3 separate regions of the Homo sapiens genome follow, and regions 2 and 3 are each linked to region 1. Evidence: promoter capture Hi-C in 16 types of primary human blood cells and fetal thymus (Javierre and others, 2016). All regions are on one chromosome and are shown on one strand. Each heading gives the region's core, a stretch centred on a gene start or on the middle of the fragment in contact. The rest is flanking DNA. Distances are from core to core; before and after follow the strand shown.

What was found. Contacts are between HindIII fragments. The CHiCAGO score rates a contact against its expected background, and 5 or more counts as called.
Region 2: a contact is called between the fragment with the promoter of APBB3 here and the fragment with the promoter of LARS1 in region 1, in 1 of 17 cell types (naive CD8 T cells). The highest score is 10.1, in naive CD8 T cells.
Region 3: a contact is called between the fragment with the promoter of NDUFA2 here and the fragment with the promoter of LARS1 in region 1, in 1 of 17 cell types (naive CD8 T cells). The highest score is 6.5, in naive CD8 T cells.

What each region holds. Positions count from the first base shown.
Region 1 is chr5:146,180,792-146,184,421 of GRCh38, reverse strand. LARS1 (leucyl-tRNA synthetase 1) reads left to right here and starts at 1,772. Exons shown (of 32, transcript NM_020117.11): 1 at 1,772-1,934. The coding sequence starts at 1,929. RefSeq lists enhancers at 334-1,180, 2,089-2,248. The HindIII fragment of the contact is 6,101 bases long and covers 1-3,630 here.
Region 2 is chr5:140,562,645-140,566,274 of GRCh38, reverse strand. It overlaps APBB3 (amyloid beta precursor protein binding family B member 3), which reads left to right and starts at 1,677. Exons shown (of 13, transcript NM_133173.3): 1 at 1,677-2,078; 2 at 2,360-2,523; 3 at 2,605-2,681; 4 at 3,552-3,612. The coding sequence starts at 2,030. SLC35A4 (solute carrier family 35 member A4) reads right to left here and starts at 1,447. Exons shown (of 3, transcript NM_080670.4): 1 at 1,417-1,447; 2 at 304-402. It overlaps LOC131768270 (SLC35A4 upstream open reading frame protein), which reads right to left and starts at 1,447. Exons shown (of 3, transcript NM_001394034.2): 1 at 1,417-1,447; 2 at 304-402. The coding sequence starts at 1,431. MIR6831 (microRNA 6831) reads left to right here and starts at 2,524; the gene lies at 2,524-2,604. RefSeq lists enhancers at 1,370-1,489, 1,245-1,851, 2,460-2,519 and a silencer at 1,810-1,989. The HindIII fragment of the contact is 4,216 bases long and covers 526-3,630 here.
Region 3 is chr5:140,645,537-140,649,166 of GRCh38, reverse strand. NDUFA2 (NADH:ubiquinone oxidoreductase subunit A2) reads left to right here and starts at 1,537. Exons shown (of 3, transcript NM_002488.5): 1 at 1,537-1,684; 2 at 1,805-1,911; 3 at 3,489-3,630. The coding sequence starts at 1,584. The coding sequence ends at 3,580. It overlaps IK (IK cytokine), which reads right to left and starts at 1,338. Exons shown (of 20, transcript NM_006083.4): 1 at 1,243-1,338; 2 at 630-696. The coding sequence starts at 1,258. MIR3655 (microRNA 3655) reads right to left here and starts at 1,323; the gene lies at 1,241-1,323. It also overlaps a transcript of TMCO6 not described here. RefSeq lists enhancers at 1,264-1,799, 1,540-1,959. The HindIII fragment of the contact is 1,275 bases long and covers 1,471-2,745 here.

The DNA of each region.
Region 1 (3,630 bases), core at 523-3,022:
ATGTGGCTAGTGGCTACTGTATCAGACACCATATATCTCTGTATGGTAGCATAGTCTTTTTTTTGTTTTGTTTTTGAGACGGAGTCTTGCTCTGTCGCCCAGGCTGGAGTGCAGTGCTGCCATCTTGGCTTACTGCAATTTCCACCTCCCGGGTTCAAGTGATTCTCCTGTCTCAGCTTCCCAGCAGCTGGTATTACAGGCGCGTGACACCACGCCTGGCTAATTTTTGTATTTTTAGTAGAGACGGGGTTTCACCATCTTGGCCAGCCTGGTCTCGAACCTCTGACCTCGTGATCCACCTGCCTCGGCCTCCCAAAGTGCTGGGATTACAGGTGTGAGACACCGTACCCGACCAGTCTTTTTTTTTCCCTTGAGATGAAGTCTCGCTCTGCCGCCCAAGATAGAGTGCAGTGGTGCGATCTCGACTCAGTGCACCCTCTGCCTCCTGGGTTCAAGCAATTTTCCTGCCTCAGCCTCCCGAGTAGCCGGGACTACAGGTGCACGCCACCATACCCAGCTAATTTTCGTATTTTTAGTAGAGACGGGGTTTCACCATGTTGGCCAGGCTGGTCTCAAACTCCTGACCTCAGGTCATCCGCCCACCTCGGCATCCCAAAATAATGGGATTATGGCCACCGCCCCTGGCCCTGTTTGGTAGTGGTCTAAATAGTCTGAGTCAGGCAATGGGACCAGGTAGGCTTTCAGTCTCTTGCTTAAAAATGGAGATTGTTGGCCGGGCACGGTGGCTCACGCCTGTAATCCCATCACTTTGGGAGGCTGGGGCGGGCGGATCACGAGTTCAGGAGATCGAGACCATCCTGGCCAATATGGTGAAACCCCGTTTCTACTGAAAATACAAAAATTAGCTGGGCGCGGTGGCGCGCGCCTGTAGTCCCAGCTACTAAGGAGGCTGGGGCAGAAGAATCGCTTGAACCCGGGAGGCGGAGGTTGCAGTGAGCCGAAACCGCGCCACTGCACTCCAGCCTGGAGACAGAACGAAACTCCCTCTCAAAAAAAAAAAAAAAAAAAAAAAAAAAAAAGGAGATTGTTGGCTAGGTACGGTAGCTCACGCCTGTAATCCTAGCACTTTGGGAGGCCGAGGGAGGCAGATCACGAGGTCAGGAAATCGGGATCATCCTGGCTAACAAGGTGAAACCCAGTCTCTACCAAAAATACAAAAAATTAGTCGGTGTGGTGGCGCGCGCCCATAGTCCCAGCTCCTCGGGAGCCTGAGGCAGGAGAATTGCTTGAATCCGGCAGGCCGAGGTTGCACTGAGCCAAGATCGCGCCACTGCACTCCAGCCTGGGCGACAGAGCGATACTGCGTCTCAAAAAAAAAAAAGGAGATTGTCAATACGCGGTTATACAATGTCTAAATGCTGGGCTGTTGAATGCCACTGACAGTAAAAAATATCTGTGCATAGTGGCAAGCCATAAGTAGCACCTCAGTCACCGTATAGTAATTAACTGCGTATCCTGGCATCCCGACAGGCAACCAGCTCTACCGGGTGAAAAGGTTGATGGCCAAGGGACTCCAACCTAACCAGGGCGCACTCGCGGCATTCTGCGATCCCGCACTGCATCATGGACTTTGTAGTTCAACATGCCAGTGACGTCACTGCCGGTTCCCCTCTGAGTGGGCCTATCGGGTAGACTTCCGATAACCCGTTTTTCTCTGGGAATTGTAGTCAGTTAGCGCCTGCTGGGTGTCTGCTCGGGTGGTCTGGGAACTACAATTCCCGGCGGGCTGTGAGATGCCTTGGCTGTAGTTAGTAAGGAGCCGGATGATTGCCTCAGCAGGTGTGAAGCGTGTGCTTTAGTTTCGTGGGAGGCCTGGCATCCCCGAGAGGGAGGGGAAAGGTAACCACTCCTTTGTGGAGGTCGCCAGGGTCATTGTCGTGGATTTGCACAGTCGGCTGGGCGGTGCAATGGCGGTGAGTTTGAGCGAGAAGAATCCGCAGGGGCCCTGGAGCCGGACTGGCCAGTCTCTAGGGGCTCTCCATGTGCTGTCCTGAAGGGAAAGTCCTTTTCTAAAAGAGAGCCACGCTTAAGGCGTGCCTTTCGTAGAGACTTTGCTTTTTCTTGCTAGTTTATGAACCACGAACTGATGTCTGTTAACTTTACGGAGTACTTGGATATCATATTTGTTATTTCTCTGGAGTTTCTAAAATCGAGGTGGAGAGCCGGGCACGGTGGCCCACGGCTGTAATCCCAGCACTTTGGGAGGCCGAGGCGGGTGGATCATTTGAGGTCAGGAGTTCGAGACCACCCTGGCCAACATGGTGAGACCCCGTTTCTACCAAAAATACATAAATTAGCCGGGCGTAGTGGTGCGCGCCTGTTAACCCAGCTACTCGGGAGGCTGAGGCAGGAGAATTGCTTGAACCCGGGAGAGGGAGGCTGCTGTGAGCCAGGATCGCGCCACTGCACTCCAGCCTGGGCGACAGAGTGAGACTCCGTCTTAAAAATAAAATAAATAAATAAACAAACAAATAAAGCCGAGGTGGAGAGAGGAGTATGTAAGTTGATTCCTACTTACAGCAAAAAAAAAAAAAAAAAAAAAAAAAAAAAAAGAAAAAATTGAGCGCCTCTCCGTAAAACAGACAAAAATCTCTCTTTTCATAGTGTTTATGTGTGTGGGTAAAATACATTGTAAAATATTGTGTCAGGTGCTGATAAATGCTGTGGGGAAAAAATAGAGCAGGAAGGGGTGCTAGGGAGTGTACGGTGGGGTAGTACAGTTGCAATTTTTAAAAATTTTTTTAAATTTGGGAGATGTTCTCACTCTGTGACCCAGACTGGAATGCAGTGGCGTGATCATGGCTCACTGCAGCCTGGACCTTAGGGCTCAAGCGATCCTCACACCTCAGCCTCCCCACAGCTGGTACTGCAAGCGTGCTCCATTACACCCTGCTAATTTTTTGTATTTTTAGTAGAGACAGGGTTTCGAACTCCTGGGGTCAAGCGATCCTTCTGTCTCAGCCTCCGAAAGTGCTGGGACTACAGGCATGAGCCATCCCGCCTGGTTTTATTTTTTTTTGTTTTTTGTTTGTTTGTTTGTTTTTTTCTTGAGACGGAGCCTTGCCCTGTCGCCAGGCTGGAGTGCAGCGGCGCGATCTCGGCTCACTGCAACCTCCTCCTCCCAGGTTCAAGCGGTTCCCCTGCCTCAACTTCCCGAGTAGCTGGGACTACAGGCGCGCGCCACCATGCCCAGTTAAATTTTTTGTATTTTAGTAGAGACAGGGTTTCACCACATTGGCCAGGATGGACTCAATTTCCTGACCTCGTGATCTGCCCGCCTCGGCCTCCCAAAGTGCTGGGATTACAGGCGTGAGCCATGGCGCCTGGCCTGTTGCAATTTTTAAAAGGATGATCAAGCAAGGCTTTGCCAAAAAGGTGGCAAAAACGAGGTAAGAGAGCAACCTATGCAACTATAGGAAGAAAGAGATTTCCAGGCAGGGGCAACAGTGTAAGTGAAAAGCAGGGATCCCGGGTAGAAGCCAGGGATGCTTCTAAACATCCTGCAGTGCACAGGACAACCCCTGAAAACAAAGAATTATTTGGCCCAAAGTGTAAGTAGTGCCAAAGTTTAGGAACTCTGATTTAGTTATATAGCCTTTTGTTACCAGT
Region 2 (3,630 bases), core at 428-2,927, 5.6 Mb after region 1:
TGCTCCCCAACTACTGTAGCCAAATGGACCTCCTTTCACCCCTCATGTTTATAATGCTACTTCCTACCACAAGGCCTTTACATATGCTGTTCTGCCTGGAATGTTCTTTCCTCCCCTCTTCACCTACTTAACCACTACTTAAGATATTAGTTCATGTGCCATTCAGAAAAATTGTCCTTAGGGTGACTGAGAATAGGCCCTCAATAATCACTTGCTGAAGAAATCTCTACCATCCATTTAACACTCTCAAGAGCATGTTGGGCAATAAAGCCTAAGGCAGGGGTGGGGTGGGACAGTCCTTACCTGGCCCACTCCACTGTTGACTTCGTCTTCTACACGCCGCTGCAGGCTTTCCAGCTGGTTCTTGAGAAATGCCAGGTCCTTAAGCTTAGGCAGAGAATCCTAGGACAAGCGAGAGGCTGGCTCCAGCAGTCTGACTAAGCCCCACCCCTTGCTCAATTCCATCAGAAGCTGGGAATTGGGAGGGGATGGGGTGAGCCAGAAAGACCTTTTCCTATAAAAGCTTCCTGAGATGGCAGTGGCAAAGAAAGACAAGCATTGAAAAGCACAGAATTCAAATGAGGGCCAGGAAGGGACTGACAGATGGGATCTGAACCAGTAACTTACATCAACCTTGACAAGAATTTTATATAGCAAGCAGTATGTAGGAAAGGCAGGAGGGACAGCTAGGGACCTTTAATTAGGTCCATCAGGAAACCACTACTGACTCCATTATGAGCTCCTTGAAAGTCGTGACCAGTCTGTCTTGGCTACTATGTTCTAGTGCCTGACATTTAGTAAATGTGTGGGTAATGCTGAGCTTCTAGACCAATGGTGAGTAATGGACCGAGGCAGTTTCCTGGACAATTTTATTGTCTTGGTTCCTGGATGGGCTTTACCTCTTTCTTCCCAAGGACATCCCAAACTGAATGTGAGTGACTGGATGTGACTGAGAATGACAAAAAAGACTGTCGGCAAGTGTGTAAGTAAATGGACTGAGTGATTTTGATCGCATATAAGTATGAAATTCAGAATGTATGCAAAGGAGTGTTTGAATGAGGGTGGTGTGAGTGTCCGTGTGATTGGAAACATCGTGTCACTGGGAAGAAAATTTCGGGAGCTAGGGAATGGGGTAAAGTGAGGAGTGTTTAAGGGTGAATGTTTTTGAGTCTGTGCTAGTAACGGGTTCGTGATGGTTCCCAGGAGGGGACATCTGGGGGATCCACGGCTCCTCCCGCCTCGCCGAATGCTCTCCCCACACCACTCCACACTGTTGAGGCAGTTGACAGGAGCCGCAGAAGAAACAAGGGACATCCTCACTCCTGAGCCGCTCCAGAGTCGCTTCTCCCCGGAACTAAAAAGGTCAAGGAGAGTGAAGACCACGCCCGGCTGCAGATCACCCCCACGGCCACTCACCTTGTCATCCGCCATCTTCCCCGCCGAACTTGTTGCGCAGGCGCATCCCCGCCTCCCTCGTGCCGACTGCCCCGGCCATCTTTACGGAGGGCGAAGGCACTTCCGGAGCATTTTTGGAAAGGGGGAGGTGCTTTCCTAGTGGCCAAGTACGCCTCTCTCAGATACTTCCACGTGACCCCCTCCCGTCGAGTCTCAGGCTGCGTGTGAGCGCACTCACGACCGGGGCGCGATGATCTCACTCGTGCGCGAGTGCGCGCGGCGCATGTTCGGCGTGTCGGTCTTCAGGCGCCTGATGAGTTCATAGTTGGGCGGTGGTGTCAGCGGTTTCGCTGGCGTTCGTGGGCCTCCCCCGGACCCACACACGGAAACACGCAACCATTCGGGGATCCAGACGCCCGTTTACACGCACCACCCCTGGGCGGGCTGTGCGGCTCAGGCCCTCCCCCGGGACCGGCCCGTGTCCCGCCCCGTGTCCCGCCCCGTATTTGTGCGGCGCCAGCTGGCCCCGCAGCCTGCGGCGCAGAGAGGCTGGGCTTGCAGGCGCAGTAGCTCCAGAGGTCGCGCTGGGCTGAGAGTGCGGGCCGGCAGAGGCTGGCGGGGAGCAGCCGGGGTTATGCTGGGCAAGGATTACATGCTGGCCATCATTCTGGTCAACTGCGATGGTGTGCACGGAGGGGCCCGGTGGGAAGACCAGGAGCTGAGGGAGGACGAGGGAATCCGAAAGGCTACTCTGGGGCTCAAAGACGGTGGGGGATACCTCTCTGTGTAGGGACCAGGGGGCGAATGAACCCGGTCTTTACATGTGATGTCTTCAAGATTGAGGAGCCTGGATCTTCAGCCTAAGAACTGACCCATTTTGGGGATGGAGAGGGGATTATGACAGCATGTTATTCTGAACTCACAAATCATATGCTCCCTCCTCTCTAATCCGGTGTTCCTGTAGATGACTTGTGGGGGGACCACAGTCTGGAGGTGGAGGCTGGCCTGCCTCCTGGCTGGAGGAAGATCCACGATGCTGCAGGTACTTACTACTGGCATGTACCCAGCGGTAGCACCCAGTGGCAGCGCCCAACCTGGGAACTAGGAGATGCAGAGGACCCAGGCACGGTAGGTAGAGTGTGAGGAGGAGGTCTGAGCCCATGTGTGGACCTAGGTCTGCTGTTAAACTGACTAACTCCCACTCTACAGGGAACGGAGGGGATCTGGGGACTGCGGCCCCCCAAAGGGAGATCCTTCTCCAGCCTGGAGAGTTCACTGGACCGGAGGTAACGGGTGGCCCAGGCAAAATGAAAGGCTTGGGGTTCCATGGTGTTCAAAAATGCAGCTGGACCCATGGTCTGCTTTCCAGCCCAGGTTCTGGATTCTGTCACATGTTTTGGGTTCTGTTACGTTCTTGGCTCTGTCCCAGGTTCTTAACTGTCAGTATTTTGAGTTTTATCCCTTGTTCTAAGCTCTTGTTTGTAGCTACATGTTTTTCATATTCTTGGTCCTAACCTATCATGTTCTAGACCTTGGCCATTAAGTCCTCTGTTCTAGGGTCTCTTGTCCCACTTTGGGGTTCTGGTCCACATATTGGACCCTGTTCTATTTTGTGACTTTTATTTTTTATTTTTTGAGATGGAGTCTCACTCTGTCATCCAGGCTGGAGTGCAGTGGCACGATCTTGGCTCACTGCAACCTCCGCCTCCCAGGTTCAAGTCATTCTCCTGCCTCAGCCTCCTGAGTAGCTGAAACTACAGGCACATGCCACCATGCCCAGCTAATGTTTGTATTTTTAGTAGATATGGGGTTTCACCATGTTGGCCAGGATGGTCTCGATATCCTGACCTCATGATCCACCCGTCTCAGCCTCCCAAAGTGTTGGGATTACAGGCGTGAGCCACCACTGCACCTAGCCTTGTGACTTTTATTCTATGTCCTGTGTCTGGGTCCTATGTCCTGAATTTTCCCTCAAATTCTGAGTCACACTTTATGTTACGTTAATATGTCCTGGGCTCTACCCTGCTCTGGTTTTATATTTCTGGTGCTATATTCTGGGTCTTGCCCCTCATCCTGTGCTTATCAAGTTGTCTAGGCCTCACCAGTGTCCCTACTGTAGGAAATGTGGTCCTCTTAACAGCTCTGCTCTGTTTCAGTAACTCTCTGTCCTGGTATGGTGGGGAATCCTACATCCAGAGCATGGAGCCAGGGGCTAAGGTAGTGACTTGGGCCTGA
Region 3 (3,630 bases), core at 288-2,787, 5.5 Mb after region 1:
GGGGATGTTATCAAAGATGATTTTATCGGGGGCCAGGCACGGTGGCTCACGCCTGTACTCCCACCACTTTGGGAGGCAGAGGCGGGTGGATCACCTGAAGTCGGGATTTCAAGACCAGCCTGATCAACATGGAGAAACCCCATCTCTACTAAAAATACAAAATTAGCCGGGCGTAGTGGAACATGCCTGTAATCCCAGCTACTCGGAAGGCTGAGGCAGGAGAATTGCTTGAACCCGGGAGGCGGAGGTTGTGGTGAGCCGAGATCGCACCACTGCATTCCAGCCTGAGCAACAAGAGCGAAACTCAGTCTCAAAAAAAATAAAAAGATGATTTTACCCTTATTTCCTATGTTTTAATTTGCTATTGGAAGAAGTAATTCCTATATAATGTGTAATTACACAACACGTATAAAAAAAAAAAAAAACTTAACACCTTTCCTGCAGGAATTTCCCTTCTAATACCCTTATGCACTTGGCCTGATCCAGTTAAGGCTCACAGAGATAAAGGGCCAGCGGGTATAATTTTTTACCATCCTTGATGACAAGACATTCAGAATTCTTTCACCATCACCACCACTTTTCTATTCATTGCCCAACTCATTTCCATGGTCCTAGCACAAAATACTCACTGGTGGAAGGAGTGAGGATCATCCACATCGTGGCCATCGGGGGCCAAAGGGTTGGAGAACGGCTCACCTGACAAAAAAAATTGACGTTAATTTAATCAGTCTCTTACGTGTCAGATCCTATGCAAAAATTTGAGATATAGTAGTGAACAATACAGAACAAAAGTTAGAACAGCGACAGTGTCAACACAATGTAATAAGTGCTGAAATAGGAAACTACAAGAAGCTGTGGGAGCACAAAGCAGAGGACCCTAATCCTGCGCTGGAGGATCAGAGAAGACTTCCGGAAGATCACGTCTAAAATACTACGTAAAAGATAAATACGCGCAACCCAGGATTAAGTATGGGGACAGGACTGGGGGAAAGCGATCCACGCACAAAAGCCGCCCATCATCACTTGGAGTAGGAGTGAGGACTGGGGACGGAGTTTGGAGCTGTCGGCCTCACTTAGGACCCTGTGGCTTCTCCGGGCTCAAGCGTCACACATACATACATACACACACACACACACACACACACACACACACACACACCCGGCTTAAGCTCAGAAGCTACAATAATGCGCCAAGTGCCCCAAGTGCCATGGGGAAGAAATAACGGATGGCCTGAGCCTTACTATCTCGCTCCGGCATTTTGTTATCGTTCTTTCGCTGTCACCAACAATCGAGTCTCCAACAGCAACACCGCAGCGACAAGCTCTTTCCCACAGTGCACCTCAGAATCAACCCACACTGCTTTGCGTTCGCAGCCTTTCCGCTTCCTGTTTTTCCCTCCGACCAACCCCGAGCGCAAAGAAATTGACCTCGCAGCGGTCCTACAATACTTTTATATCATTGGCCAAGCTTTACCCCGCCCCTGCCTCATGCAGCCTATGGGCTAGGCTTTAGGGTCCGCGGTTGGTCAGACCGGAGCACTTGGCCTGAAGACCTGGAATTGGCGACTTCGATATTAACAAGGATGGCGGCGGCCGCAGCAAGTCGAGGAGTCGGGGCAAAGCTGGGCCTGCGTGAGATTCGCATCCACTTATGTCAGCGCTCGCCCGGCAGCCAGGGCGTCAGGTGAGGCGCGGCGTGGTGAGGCGGGCGGGCTTCGGGACGCCAGGGTCACGACCTCGACCTCCCTGAAGTTGAGGGAAGCCCCCGCCCACAGCACGCGCGGCGCTCTCTCCGGCCCCGCAGGGACTTCATTGAGAAACGCTACGTGGAGCTGAAGAAGGCGAATCCCGACCTACCCATCCTAATCCGCGAATGCTCCGATGTGCAGCCCAAGCTCTGGGCCCGCTACGGTGAGTGCGGGACGCCAGGGGTCTGGGGCTCCGGTAGGGGAACAAGGGTTTGAGAAGAGAAGGGACCGCCCAAGGTCGTGCAGAAACCCGTGGAGAAACTAGAACTCGGACTTTAGCCTTGCTGTTGATCTTGTTTCCATGAAGAAATTTATATTCGCAGGGTTATATGATGCGTTGTATTCCGGGCAACATAAGTATGCAGGCTGACCGAATCCTGCGTAGGGACCAGGAGCTGACGTTTTTGTAGTTAAGAATGGGCTTCAGACAGGAGAGAAGTTAGTCAATATAGTTTCTCCAAATAACGTGTAGCCAGTGTCAGTCCAGGTAGTGTGTGAGAATCTCAGTAATTTTGCACATAGAGCTGGGCCCTGTGCTGAGTGCTTCCCTGCCTAACTCATTTAATCTTCATTAGTTAGGAGGAAGCGTGTTCTTCTTTTCTCACTGTAGAGATTAGAAAACGGAATCAAAACTTTGTTTTGCACTATTGTTAAACTCTAGCTGCAACTTTAGATGCAGCTAGAGTTTAACAGGATTGAGCCTTTACATTTATTCCCCTTCCTAGAATGCACTTACCCCTCTAAGACTGGCATGGCAATGTATTGCAAAATGAAATTTTCCTATCATGTTGCCTAACACATTGTAGGTATGCAATAAATGTTTATACATACTGAATAACAGGATTTTAATCACAGCTTTTAACTATATGGTGCCCTGGGAATGACGGGAGGAGGTGGAGGAGAGTGACCACCTTAAGCAGATTGGTTCTCAGAGTAGATATCTGTGAGACACAGTAGACATTAGACATGCACTAATAATTGGAGAAGGAAAAAAGCTTCTCCTTCCAAAAGCCAGTAGACTACAGGAGGAGATAGACACGAGTAACTTTAGTGTATTGTGCTGGGTATTATGTTAGATAGCCTATGGGAGCCTAGAGAATGGGTACCCAGCTGGGTGCGGTGGTTCACGCCTGTAATCCCAGCACTTTGGGAGGCTGAAGCAGGTGGATCACCTGAGGTCAGGAGTTCAAGACCAGCCTGGCCAACATGGTAAAACCCCGTCTCTACTAAACATACAAAAATTAGCCGGGTGTGGTGGCGGGCACCTGTAATCCCAGCTACTCAGGAGGCTGAGGCAGGAGAATTGCTTGAACCCAGGAGGTGGAGGTTGCAGTGAGTGGAGATCGTGCCACCACACTCCAGCCTGGGTGACAGAGCGAGACTCCGTCTCAAAAAAAAAAAAAAAAAAAGAGAGAGAATGGGCTCCCAGCTGAGGCTGGACCCATGCAATACATTGCTCACCGTAGTTAATAATAAATGCCTACAGTGCCCCCGAAAGCTTCCCTGAAACAACCCATTGCGGCCATCCAGAATCAGCCAAAATTCTATTTGGACTTGGGCTTCCTAGATGTGTTTGAGACCTATTGTATTAATTCTAGGCATACCAAATGTATTTTGATCATATCTCTTTAATACTCTTCCTGTCTTAACAAGACTAAGATAAAGACAAAGATCTTTTATTTTACTTTGGTAGCCTCCAGGGTGCAGAATAGTTAAAGACACCTCCCTCTCTCTCTTCAGCATTTGGCCAAGAGACGAATGTCCCTTTGAACAACTTCAGTGCTGATCAGGTAACCAGAGCCCTGGAGAACGTTCTAAGTGGTAAAGCCTGAAGCCTCCACTGAGGATTAAGAGCAACAGCCCCAGAGCCTGGGCTCTGCTG